Regions from separate parts of the Homo sapiens genome. Here region 2 is linked to region 1. Evidence: promoter capture Hi-C in human tissues and cell types (Jung and others, 2019). All regions are on one chromosome and are shown on one strand. The core of a region is centred on a gene start or on the middle of the fragment in contact, and the rest is flanking DNA. Distances in the headings are between cores, read along the strand shown. Region 1 holds the start of PRR18 (proline rich 18). Region 2 overlaps MPC1 (mitochondrial pyruvate carrier 1).

Region 1 (7,066 bases), core at 4,114-6,613:
GGTGCGTGATGGCACAGGACAGAACACAGTGCATGCGAGATCCTATGGCTTCTACTGAGCCCACCACTCATCTCTCATTTGTTTATTTTAGAAAATAGTTTTTAAAAATATATTAAAAATATGTTAACATAATGGGTTTATTGCTAACATGTAATGTATTTAAAGCTATTTAAATTTCTAATAAGGTTAACATAATAGGTAAAATCCACAAAACAGAAGCTCTTTGGGGTTCTCAGCCATCTGGTCTTGAGACCAAAGAAATTGGGACCCCCCCCCCCCGGCATGGAGGGAAGCGTGTGCTCTGGCGCCCCCTGCCTAGACAGGCTGCCCCTGGCCGCGTGCTAGTTGTGTGACTGCTTGGGTAAGCCTTGGTTTGTCATCTGTAAAATGCAAGTATTGCTAGTACTGCTCTCACAGGGCTTTCATGAGCTTTCAACGATGTAACTAATCCAGATAAAGTGGATTATTTAGTGCAGAATAGACATTGCCTGTTATCATCTTAATAATGGGGAAAAAGAAGTACTTTAAAATTGTTAGCATCCAACACATTTCCTAAGTGTTTTTTTAATTCCCAAAGCCTTTCACAGTAACAGACCAGCGTTAGAAGAAATGTAGACATTTTTAAGTTATTGGCAAGTTTTCCAAGTAATAAAATTGGTTTTAAACTGGAATAAGCTTCTGTGTTAAAATTCAGGTTTGGTTTTAGTTCTAGATGTTTGATTGCTTACTGTTACATCATGTAAAATGATTTGAATGAAAGTATAGAAAGAAGTAGACCATAGGGGATAATGAGAAACAATGTATTGAAATAGTTCCCATTTTGAAGTTTTTCTGAATGTACATTTAAATATTATATAACTTAGTAAAAAAGAAGAAATTAAGTTAATGAGAAAAATGAAATGTTTTTCAAATAATGGCTAATTTCCTGGTGTTGTGATGTGATTACTGGCTCTAATTTTATTCACTGGTTACGAGGCAGGAGTGAGCAGTTGAGCAGCCAGCGCGCATCGTGTGGGAGCCCGGAATCCTTGGGATCATTTCTGTAGGGTCTGGGCAGTTGGGATGATCAGATCTGAGGCCCTTTACACAGCAGGGTCACCGAGCTGCAGCCTTGATAATTCTTCAGTCCACACAGTTCAAATCGGTGGAACAGCTGCCCTCTGTAATTGTAGTTGGGCCTGAATGTAAACTTCCTGGTGTTTTATTTTAGTGATTGAAATATTCTCTGTGCACATATTATTCACTGGAAATGTCTTAAAGGGTTGTTGTAATGGAAATTCTTTACTCTGATACACACTTTACTCTGACAGAATAGTGGGGCGGGTGGATAATCACCATTCCCACATGTGGACAATATTGTGTTATTGTTATATTTGAAATCTGAAAATCAAATTTAATTTAAAACATAAATGACGTAAAACATAAGTCAAAAATATGGACAGTTCCAAATACATAGGACCCCTAAGCAATGTGGGGGTTAGGGGTACCAGCCTCCCATAGGGTCAGAAATCCTTGTGTAACTTTTGACTCTGCAAAACATAACTACTAATAGCCTACTGTTGACCAGAAGTCTTATCGATAACTTAGTTGATTAACATATTTTGTATGTTAGCCGGGCGCAGTGGCTCACGCCTGCAATCCCAGCACTTTGGGAGGCTGAGGTGGGTGGATCACAAGGTCAGGAAATCGAGACCATCCTGGCTAACACGGTGAAACCCCGTCTCTACTAAAAGTACAAAAAATTAGCTGGGCGTGGTGGTGGGCGCCTATAGTCCCAGCTACTCAGGAGGCTGAGGCAGGAGAATGGTGTGAACCCGGGAGGCGGAGCTTGCAGTGAGCCGAGATCGCACCACTGCCCTCCAGCCTGGGCAACAGAGACCCTGTCTCAAAAAACAAAAACAAAAGCAAAAAAAAAAACACCATATTTTTTATGTTATATGTATTATATATATTATACAGTATTCTTAAAGTGAGCTGAAGAAAATGTTAAGACAATCATGAAGAAGAGAAAATACATTTACTATTCTTAAGTATTGAAGTGGATCATCATGAAGGTCTTCATCCTCATCACCATTACCTTGAGTAGGCTGAGGAGGAAGCGGAGGGGTTGGTCTTGCTGTCTCAGGAGTGGCAGAGGCAGAGGAAAATCCTCCTGTAAGTGGACCCTCGCAGTTCAAACCCATGGTGTTCAAGGGTAAACTGTATTTGGTTTTGGTTAGTTGACCTTTTAAATCAACTTATTTGAGACAGTAAATTTAGATAAGATGTAATCATGCAAGATAAGATGTAATCATGCATTTTAGAGATCAGCTCTTGTTCAGGTGAACCCCAAAATCTAGTTCTGAGACAGATTAGCTGATCTCAGTATTCTAGTACCCAAGCTTTACTATTTAATATTACATATGAATAGTTATAATTATTGTGTTCTGGGCAAGCTATGAGAAATCCCTTGTAAATTATAAGCTAAATTTTACATTATTTTTATTTATTTATTTTTTTGAGATGGAGTATTTCTCTGTCGCCAAGGCTGGAGTACAATGGCACGATCTCAGCTTACTGTAACCTCCACCTCCCGGATTCAAGTGATTCTCCTGCCTCAGCCTCCTGAGTAACTGAGATTACAAGCGCGTGCCACCACTCCCAGCTAATTTTTGTGTCTTTAGTAGAGACAGGGTTTCACCATGTTGGTCAGGCTTGTTCTCGAACTCATGACCTCAGGTGATCCACCCGCCTTGGCCTCCCAAAGTGCTGGGATTACAGGCGTGAACTACTGTACCCAGCTACTATATTTCTTTAACCGCTTTTCAGTTACACCTGCTGTCCTGAAGTTAAACGCAGCCATCTCTCTGGCGTGGCTTTCCTTGCTGGGAACTGCTGCTGGCTGCTTGCATCAGCCGAAGGGTATTTGTAACGGATTCTTTAACAGCCACAGCACCAGTGAGGGCCAGCGACAGAGGCTGCTTTCACGCATTCTGTTTCAGGCCCAAGCCAATCTTTCTAACTTCTAATTTACAAGGAGCTGAAGGTTTCAAGTAGCAGAAGTAGCTGGGCAGGGGACAAGCGATGCTGTCATTTGGGTGCTTTTATCAGAGTCTGAAGAGGGGATAGTCCGTCGGCAATGCTAACTCCTCCGTACTCCTGGGGCAGCAACCCGCCATGAGAACCCAGAGCTCAGAACCCCTCGTAGGAGCATGCTTTGCTCTGAGGGTTCTGGGGAGACAGGGAAGAGGCACTGCCCCTCCTACCTGGCCTGGTGATGAGGTGGCGGACACTCAGAATGTACTTTTCTGCCTCTCAAGGGTCACACAAACTTACAGCTTTCCATGTCTCCAAGCTTCTGGGCTGGTATGAGACGTCTGGGAGGGCTTGGAGAATCCCAGTTCTTGTCTGGTCAGACACGTGCATTAATCTGATAAACTATCACTTTTCTTGGCTTAAAAAGGCCCAAATCGCTACTAGTTTGTGGGTGAGAGGTCACTTAATCCAATCACCCTGATCTACCAAGACTTTTTCCCTCTCAGCTTTAGTGTAAAAGTTGCAATCTGGCCTTGGACTCGCACTCCTGGGGTGGAGTCTTATCTCCTCCGTCCCGTTAGAGCTGTGTGATGGCAGTTGCGTAGCTACCTCGCCTCTGTACGACCAGTGTCCCAGCAGAATGGAGACAGCAGTGGAAGTCGGGAGCATTACTATGAGGCCACCAACCCATTCTCACCCCAAAACTGTCATTCCTTCTGAAGCATCCTAAGAGTAAGGAGACAGGAAGGAGAGAAGACCCCACCAGCACCGTCACAGCTTTTGAACTGCGGGGCTCCAAACTCAGATGTCTGAGTGTCCAAGTGTTTGCTGATTTTTCTCCATAGCCTGCCTCTCCAGCTGTGCCCCCATAAATGATATTTGATACCGCCCCCCGCCCCACCCCCATCCTCTCCTGCCTCACCTTCTCTTCCAGTTCTCCACTTTCCAGGCACAGAACTGTGGGCCTCCTGCCGCCACTGACGTGCCTCTTCCCACACCCATCCAGAGATTCTAAAACCTGGAATAAAACATATTGAGGAGGAGGTTTCAGTATCTTAGGACCTCACCTGTCAAGCCGATTAACAGCCTGAGCCCACCGGCAGAGACAGGCTGGCAGGGATGGAGGGAAAGTGCCTGTGAGCTGGGAGGCTTGTTTCAGAGCTGTATTGGGGTGGCTTGGGAGGTGCTGGTAGAGATGACAGGGCCCAAACCTGTCACCCCAACCCAAGCTCTGGTGAGAAGTGTTTCCCACCACCTGCCAGGTTTCCTTGACGCTCCCATGTATCCACAGCGCAGTTCTCTGAGGCCACCAACAGTCAACAAGGGGAGGCGTTGCTGCTGCCTCGGAGACTGAGGCGGCTGGGGGAGGGCCATGCTGTCCTGCTGTGACTGTTGGCACAGGGCACATTTGTGTTTACCCACAGTTGAATGTGCTCTGGAGCTAACCTGGGGCCGTAACCATCACACACCTGGTTTCCATCAGAAAAGTGTATCTGATGGAAAGTACTTTGTGGAGATCTAAGCAGCTGATGATTATCCTTAAGTAATGCAGGGACTGCACACATGAAATGTTGACTTTTTGATCCGTCACTTTGCAATTGTTCAATTATTTATTAAACAAACATTTGAATATTGTAGGATGTCTTCATGTGTCTACGACTAGAATGTAAATTGACAGTGAAGATTTATCTCATTAATTCTGAATCTCTGCTACAGTGATAAATATATTGCTTTGCTCATAAGAATTATTAAAGGGACTTGATGTCTAATATTTGCCATGTAATCAGCATTATATAGCTGAAACTGAACTATTTTGCCTGTTCATAGATACTTAGGTTTTGAATTTGAAAGTGACTCCTCAAGGGGTGGCATGAACACTATGTAAGATTCACTGAGGGTCATTTCTCCCCTCTCAGCTCCAGCCCGCTTTTCTCTGTGAAGCAGGATGTGTCCGGGGCCGCAGAGCTGCATCTACTGGCGGTGCCTTTCCCGCCGTCTCGAAGGCACGGAGAGGCTACAGGGGATTTTCTCTGAAACGTGCAGGGCCTCCACCTGTGACTCCGGAAGGCTGCCGGCTCCCCCAGGGGAATGCTCCTGGCTTTCGACGGACTACATTAACCTCGGACCACCGGAGCGCCAGCTGGGGGAGCCCCGGGATGCCTGGCGCGCGCTCCGCCCTCCGCTGTCCTGGCACTTTGCTCCCATTCAACAGTCGGTCGTGACACCAGCCGGGCACAGCCCGGGGCCTGGCAGGGCCGCGTCCTTAGCGAGCGCGCTGGGCTCCTCCTCCTGCCGGCCCGGCCCGCGTCTCAGCTGTGGGGACCCGGGGGCGCCGCGACTCGCCCACAGTCGGACGGCGGGAGGCGGTTCCTGCAGGGTCCAGTCCCGGGAGCACCCCCAGGAGGAGGGGAGGGTGGGAGCGCCTCTCTTTGAGTCCCCGGGTTTGGTCGCTGGGATGTGAGGAAGCCGGAGAGGCCGCGGCTGGACGCAGGTGGGTGTGGAGGGGCCGCCCGGACTGCGGGGACCCGCTCCGCGCACAGTGGCTGAGCGCCCGCCTCTCTTTCCAGGGGCTGAGGATCCGGCGGCTCGGCTGCACTATGCCCTTCCCGCCCATGCCGCCGCCGCCCGCCCCCGCCCCGGGGGCCCAAGCCGCGCGCCAGTTACCCCGGAGGCCCTGCGCCGCGGGGGACAAGAAGAAGAGGCCCCCACAGCGGCCCGAGGGGCTCCTCTCCAGCTCCTGGCCCTCCGCCACGCTCAAGAGGCCGCCGGCCCGGCGCGGCCCCGGCCTGGACAGGACGCAGCCGCCGGCCCCTCCGGGCGTCTCCCCCCAGGCCTTGCCCAGCCGCGCGCGGGCCCCAGCCACGTGCGCCCCGCCCCGGCCGGCAGGCTCCGGCCACAGCCCAGCGAGGACCACCTATGCGGCGACCTCGGCGGGGACGGGGACCACCGCCGCGGGCACCTCCTCGGGGGCGGGGCCTTGTCCAGACTCCGCTGCGCGCTTCTGCCTGAATCTCACCCCCGAGGCCGTCCTGGTCATCCAGAAGCGTCATCTGGAGAAGCAGCTGCTGGCGCGGCCCCGCAGGCCCTTCCCCTCACCCTCGGCCGAACCCAGGCGCCTACTCGCCCCGTGTCTCCCGGCTAGGGCCGCGGGCCCGCGGAGGGGCGGCCCCGCCAGCGACCCCGACGCACCCCCCACCGCCGGCCAGGGCCGCCGCGCGCCTCCGCCCGGCGCCCAGCTGCTGCACGGCGGCCTGCAGGTTCCCCAGCTCAGCCCGCGGCCCGGGGCCCTGCGGCCGATGCTCAAGGTGTCGCTGCTCAACGAGCGGCACAGGTACGACGACGTGGAGTACGAGGAGGAGCCAGAGGCGGTGGACGAGGGCCTGGTACGCAAGTGCACGGAGTGGCTGCGCGGCGTGGAGTCCGCGGCTGCCGCGCGGGGCCGGGCGGGGGCCCTGGACTCACGGCGGCACCTGAGCACGCTGTGAGCCCAGCGGGCCTGCGGGGACAGGCCAGGCCTGATCCCACCTCACTTCCTGCACGCGCCACTCCGCCTAGGGGCCCTCGGGGGAGACCGCAGGCTCCTCTGGCCGCCAGCGCCCACTTTCGGGACACCAGTGCGCAAGCTGGCCCACGTGGGGCGCAGCCAGACTCGCCCGACGGCCACGGCCCCCCTCCTGCCCTCGCCAGCCGGCAGCCCGGGCCTTTCTCGTTCACACCGGTGGTATCTACCCCAGATGCCTGCCTCTGCCCCCACTCTGGCCTCCTCTTGGCATCGCCGAGCATCCATGCAGTTCGTGGGGAATTAAGCAACTGAGAAAATGCCTCTTGGTGCCCCGACCCCCAGGGTTCGTCTAGGTCCCAGAGACCCTCTGCCTGGAGGCGGGCCTTCCCCAGGGCTACATCTGCACGCCCCGTGGTGTCACCCTCAGCCGGCGCCGGGCACCCTGGACAGTGCGGTGGGCGATGGCCCAGGTGGGTGGCCGCGACGGTGGCCTCCTGCAGAGCTGGGACCCGGTCCTACATTCGTGATTTTGTTTTCTCCCAAGTCAGA
Region 2 (6,593 bases), core at 3,299-5,798, 61 kb before region 1:
GTGAATGGCAAAATAAATTGTGGTACCTCCAGACAATGGAATATTATTCAGCACTAAAAAGTGAGCTATGAAACCATGAAAAGACATGAGGGAAACTTAAATTCATATTACTGCATGAAAGAAGCCAGTCTGAAAAGGCTGCATACTACCTGGTTCCAACTACACAACGTTCTGGAAAAGGCAAAATTATGGAGCTAGTCGAAAGATCGGTGGTTGCAAGGGTTGAGGTGGGGCACAGAGGATTTTTAGAGAGTGAAACTACTGTAAGACACTATGATGATGGACGCGTGGCATCGTATGTTCATCTAAACCCACACGATGTACAGCACTAACAGGGAACCTTAATGTAGATATGGACTTTGGGTAACAATCCTGTGTCAATGTAAGTTTCGTGATTGTGATAAATACACCATGGGCGGGGGATGTAGATAATGGGAGAGTGCGTGCATGTTTCGGGGCTGGGTGTATATGGAAGGTTTCTGTACTTTGGTTCAATTTTACTGTGAACCTAAAACTTTTCTGAAAAATTAAGTTTATTTTTTAAAAAAACAGAATACTTAATTTTTAACTGGAAATATAGTTTCTCCTCCATGAGAATTCAAAATCATAAGTGAACCCAAGAAAGTCTATGAGTTTTGTGTTTGTTTGCTTTTTTACTGAAAATAAAGGCAGCATACCAAATAAAGAGAAAATCAAGAATATTTTCTAAATGGTTTTGCATTACTGTCCCCAAATTGCAGTTTATATGTGGCTTATAAATTTATCTCCCCTTTTTTTTTTGAAACAGGTAATAATACATATTTGGAAGCATTTTTTTTTCTAATTTGGTTCTGCACAAATATGCTTTTCAGATATTTTGATTGAGTTGTTGATTCATGCATTCTAGAAAACCCTGACTTAGAATTGAGGGATGTTGAGTTGTAGTGTTTTGTATTTAACAGACATATTTAAACTGACTTTACTCTCAGATTGTTTTACAGTAATTAATGTGATTATATTCATGTAGGACTTTTGAACTGAGCAGGGTATGAAGGCAGAAGTTAATTCTCCCTTATTCTCATACATGTGTAATCTATACTAATCCTTATTCTCATACATTTGTAATTCTCCCTTATTCTCATACATTTATAATCTCCCTTATTCTCATACATTTGTAATCTGTTGTAAAATAGGGTATAATCAAGCTGTTGTATGATTTAAGGAGAGAGTCCTAAAGGAAAAACTAAGTTATGTCCAAGTTGAAACTTCACATTGTAAGTACGACATCCTTTAAAATATTTTTATAGGGAAAAAATGTGCCCTTGGTTATTCATAGTTACCTAAAGGGCCAGTGTTCAGATACTGACAAAGGTATTTGAAGGAGAGCAATGCCGTAGGTGACTGACTGTTCTAGCTAGATTATGCTGTCTCATCTGGTAAGGTTATCAATCTCTCTGCTATAAAGCATTGTGGTCAGTTTGTACTTGCTGTGAAATATAATTTGGATAATTATATTTGTATATATATGAATGATATATATTTCATAATATAACCTATCTGAAGCACATAGTAGTACCCCCTCATCTGCAGTTTCTCCTTCTATGGATTCAGTCACTCAGGGCCATTTGTGGTCCAAAAAAATATTACAGTATTGTGAAAGAGAGAGTAACCACATTCTCAAAATTTTTATATCAGTTCATTGTCATAATTATTCTATTTTATTATTAGTAATTGTTGTCAATCTCTTACTCTGCCTAATTTATAAATTAAACATTATCATAGGTATGTATGTATAGGAGAAAAACATAGTATATATAGGGTTCCGTATTATCCACGGTTTCAAGCATCCACTGGAGGTCTTAGAATGCATCCCCTGAGGATAAGGGGGACTACTGTATTATTAGCACCATCAACAATTATTTTCATGTTACAAATTATAATCTCTGTGCTCTCTAAAACAAAACAACTAGTAGAATTCTTTGGACTTGAGTCTGTTTATAAAGGATTTTATTATTTCATTTTTCCCCCTGCCGTACTGCTCAATTTTATTATTTTATTTCAATAACTCTTTCAGTAGCTCAACTTTGAGATTTTGCCCTAAGAGAAGAGCTCAGGTATATCCTGGCAAGAGAAATTGTTATTTCAGAAATAAAAGTAACTCAATATAAGTTTTTGGTGTATTTTTAAATTTAACATTCTGGAAAACAGCATTGACATTTTTACTATTCATTCATTCATTCAATAAATATTTTTTAAATTCCAGTTTAAATGCCAGGCCCTACTTTAAGTAGTCCAGTAGTAACAAAAATACATCCCTCCAGGGGTTCACATTCTGGTGCAATGTGTTAGTAAGCAGAAGGGAAAGTTTCATTGTTAATAGAATTCTGCAACAGTATGCATCTCTCCAACTTACCACTTTTAAGGAAATATTTCCTCGAAAGCTGTGCTGTCCAATTTGAGAGCCACTAGCCACAGGTGGCTACTGATCACCTGAAATGTGACTAGTTCAAGCTGAGATGTGCCGTAAGTGTAAAATACACACTAGAGTCCAAATAATTGTATGAAAAAGCATGTAAAAGGTCTAATGAATAGTTTTTATTGATTACATTTTGAAATTAAAATGTTTTTTGCATACATATGGATTAAATAAATATTAATACAAGTAATTTCTGTGGTTTCTTTTTACTTTTCTACTTTTCTTTTCCTTTTTTTTTCCAGACAGGGTCTTGCTCTGTTGCCCAGGCTGGAGTACAGTGGTGTGATCATACCTCACTGCAGACTTGAACTCCTGGGCTCAAACAATCCTCTGGAGGCACAAACCACCCATGCCCAGCTAATTTTTAAAATATATTTGTGTATAGATGGGGTCTCACTATGTTGCCCAGATTAATAGTGAATTCCTGGCCTCAAGCAATCCTCCTGCCTTAGCCTCCCAGAGTGCTGGGATTACAGGCATAAGCCACTGTCCCCGGCCTTCTTTTTAGTTTTCTTAATGTGGCTTCTAGAAGTTGTAAATTACGTACGTGGCTTGTATTTCTGCCTTGCATTATATTTCTATTGGACAGTTCTGCTCTAAGGATTGCACTTATTTTCCATAAAACTAAGATCTAATTTCATGAAGTCAAAGTTCTTATTAGAAATAATATTACTTGATCTTTTAAAAATAATAAAAGAATGTACACTGTTAACGTTGTAGTCCTGTTACTGAAATTTGAATACAGGTGTGAGGTTGCAGTAACCTAATAAGACCAAAATCATTTGATTTTTGTTTCTTTTTTTTCCATGTCTGTCCTGTCTGAACTTCGGTGACTCTTCACAAAATAGTACGGTAAGAAAATTATTTCCATCCATTTCAGGCTTTTGCAGACTTTCTGCATTAACAGAGTTAGGGGTAACAGGCTTAGCATCCTTTGCATATGAGAGCCTTTCTAGCCGCCATGGCTGGCAGGTTGTGAAGGGTGCCTACTGCACCCTGGCCTGTCCTGGGGAGCCTAGACACGAGCTCTGTGACAGCCATGCTCCTGGGGCTGCTCCCTACTCCTGTTTTTAGAAACAAGCATATAATTACTTCATTGATAACAGTCACAGTGGAGCCTAGCAACCGATGAAAGGAAATAGAGAAAGAAAAAGAGAAAGCAGGAAAAGAAGGGTGGGATGATTTTTTCCTGTAGGGTGGAGTTCATTTCCATGGCTTGATTTTCACACAGGAGATGGTGTTGTATAATTCTGTTGGAACTTTCTTTTCAGCACAATTAAGAATTATAATCAAGTAAAATGTTTTCCATTTAATCCAACATATGTTAATTTCTTTTTGAATTTTAATAAAGTTCCTTATTTTTCTCAAAATTGACTGCTGAATATCTGACAGCATAAATCAATTGTATTCTAAAAAAGGGAAGAGAGAACTAGAATATTGTACTAGATAGAAAAGATGCATTATAAACTTTCTAAGGTTAGGTATTTTAGTAAACTAGTGTTAAAATGATTTTTACCTTTCGTGTTCTTCTTAAGAAACATATTTTCAGTATAGCTCAACACTTACAGTCATAAGTGTATGTATAGTTCTTAACTTGCAGAACTGTTTCCTATAACCTAACACTCATCACACTTAAACTTTTTATTTTTTTAATTTTTTTTCTTTTTTGAGATGGAGTCTTGCTCTGTTGCCCAGGCAAGAGTGCAGTAGCACTATCTTGGCTCACTACAACCTCTGCCTCACGTGTTCAAGCGATTCTCCTGCCTCAACCTCCCTAGTAGCTGGGATTTCAGGTGCAAGCCACCACACCCAGCTAATTTGTGTATTTTTAGTAGAGACGGGGTTTCACCATGTTGGTCAGGCTGGTCTCAAACTCCTGACCTCATGATCCGCCTGCCTCAGCCTCCCAAAGTACTGGGATTACAGGTGTGAGCCACCATGCCCGGCCCATACTTAAACTTTTAATAACATCACTTAGCCAGGAATCTCCCAAGGCTACTTTAGGTTTAGATTTATTCCATTGTCCATTTCTGCTTTAGCCCCACCTATGAAAGAAGACACATTCACAACCAGTGGTAGAGAAACTGTGGTTTATATGCCCCTCTTAGAATAACTCTTCAGGCTCTGTTTATAGCCCTGGGTTCATGCATGATAAAGTAGACAGCAACACCACCATACAGTGCAGAGGAGTGGCAAGAGAGTAAACGGAAAAGGAGATGAAAATAGACCAAGTGGAGAAAGGCCTGGTCAAAAAAGGAGGAAAAGGAAGATCACTATGGAATAATAGAGAGTTGAAAAATGAAGTGACACCCAATAACAGGACGGGTAAGAAAAGAAGTAAGTAGGTAAGGGAGAGATAGATACTCTCCCTTACAAAAGTCTGGGGAATAAGGAAAAAAGAAAACTGGCCATATTGCATCTAAATGTAAGAAATTAAGGGTCATTGTTAATAGAATTCTGCAGGAGTGTACTTCTCTCCAACTTGTCATTTTCTTTTTTTTTTTTTTTTTTTCCCTGAGACGGAGTCTCGCTCTGTCACCCAGGCTGGAGTGCAGTGGTGCAATCTTGGCTCACTGCAACCTTCACCTCCCGGGTTCAAGCAGTTCTCTGCCTCAGCCTCCCAAGTAGCTGGGATTACAGTCACCTGCCACCACGCTGGCTAATTTTTATATTTTTAGTAGAGACAGGGTTTTACCATGTTGGCCAGGCTAGTCTTAAACTCCTGACCTCGTGATCCACCCGCCTCAGCCTCCGAAAGTGCTGGGATTACAGGCGTGAGCCGCTGCACCCGACCCAACTTGTCATTTTCAAAGAAATATTTCCTCCAAAGCCTTGCTGTCCAATTTGAGAGCCACTAGTCACCTCGTCTAAATGTAAGAAATTAAGTGAAAGTTGCAGTAGTGAGTATCTTAGATAACATGCAGTCTGAATGCAAGATAACTAATTAGCCAGCCCAGAATCTCAAGATTCTTTAAACCAACTGTGCCTAATTTACAGAGTTTATAACTCACATGTTAAACCCTGAAATACTTATGGTGATGGCTATGTGGGAACTTTGACCTTTTGTAGTTATCTAAATGACCTTGTGGCTTTCATGTTAAATAAACATTTTTAAATATTCTATTATGCCAAATCTAATTCCCATTTATTTTTCTTATATTTCCCTTGGTTTACCACTTTTTAGGGAATCTTTGGATTTTAACCCCTCGTCAATAGTAGAAGCAAAGTCTGAATTTAACCTAAACATTATGATAGGCAGAAGTCAAGCAAAGACTGTTTTTACTCTTTAGTGTTAGGATAACTAAAAGGGGTGTTTAGCCAACAAGATGTGGTTCCTTTCAGATTTGAAAATATTATTTCCAAATTCTAAATTAATGAAACAATTTTTCATCTTTAATGAACAAAAGCCACAAGCCTTATTTTATTTCAGCCTCTAAAATTAAATTGATTGTGGCTGCTGTCAAACACAGACGACTTCACTTTGGTATCCTTGGATGAGTGTAGTTGTGGAATGAAAAACTATTGGTTCATTTCTTTAATATTAATATAAGTTTTTGCTATTATGTCAAAAGTACTTTCCAATCTTAATTTCTTAGTGTCTGGGGTCCTGGGCATTGATTTCCAAGTTATTTTATCTTAGAATAGCTCATATGAGCTGAAAAACAATTTATTCTCTTATTAAGCTTCTTTCTTCAGAAAAGTACCCAATTTAGGGTCTGCATTTTAAGAATTATTAACAAATATCTTCATAAAAATTTGGGAAAAGGAGTGTGGATAGATTTAAACATAAAAATATGGAGAATAGTTCTAACAGGGTTTGAATTATAGCAACAATGGATTGTGTAAGAAGTGAATCTTATTTTTATTTTTAAATGTTCTAAATAGGACAATCAGAGATGACTTGGTTGTAGTGTGGAAACCAGTAGGGACCTTGGGAAGCTGCCAAACCCTTTCTAGCTCTGGGCTCAGCTGTAAGAACTGCTGATTCCTACAGGAACACTTGGACAATCCAATACCTAAATGTTAACCATCAATTAACCCAGTAAACCTGCAAGATGGAAACGAAGATTTGTTCTCACGAGTTTCACGTGATTATTTAAAGTAAGGGAAATTTCAGCTGTTTATAGTTCTGTCTTAA

The links. Contacts are between HindIII fragments. The study calls those that stand out against the background at their distance.
Region 2: a contact is called between a fragment that was not itself captured here and the fragment with the promoter of PRR18 in region 1, in 2 of the 25 tissues and cell types used here (hippocampus and neural progenitor cells).

The regions. Positions count from the first base shown.
Region 1 is chr6:166,306,689-166,313,754 of GRCh38, reverse strand. It overlaps PRR18 (proline rich 18), which reads left to right and starts at 5,363. Exons shown (of 1, transcript NM_175922.4): 1 at 5,363-7,066. The coding sequence starts at 5,613. The coding sequence ends at 6,500. LOC107986669 (a long non-coding RNA gene) reads right to left here and starts at 6,207. Exons shown (of 3, transcript XR_001744464.2): 1 at 6,032-6,207; 2 at 3,938-4,033. RefSeq lists an enhancer at 4,931-5,210 and a silencer at 5,281-5,880. The HindIII fragment of the contact is 9,550 bases long and covers 2,859-7,066 here.
Region 2 is chr6:166,366,932-166,373,524 of GRCh38, reverse strand. MPC1 (mitochondrial pyruvate carrier 1) reads left to right here. Exons shown (of 5, transcript NM_016098.4): 2 at 3,304-3,307. Among named protein-coding and RNA genes, the nearest start is that of MPC1, 13 kb to the left of the region's middle. The HindIII fragment of the contact is 7,670 bases long and covers 714-6,593 here.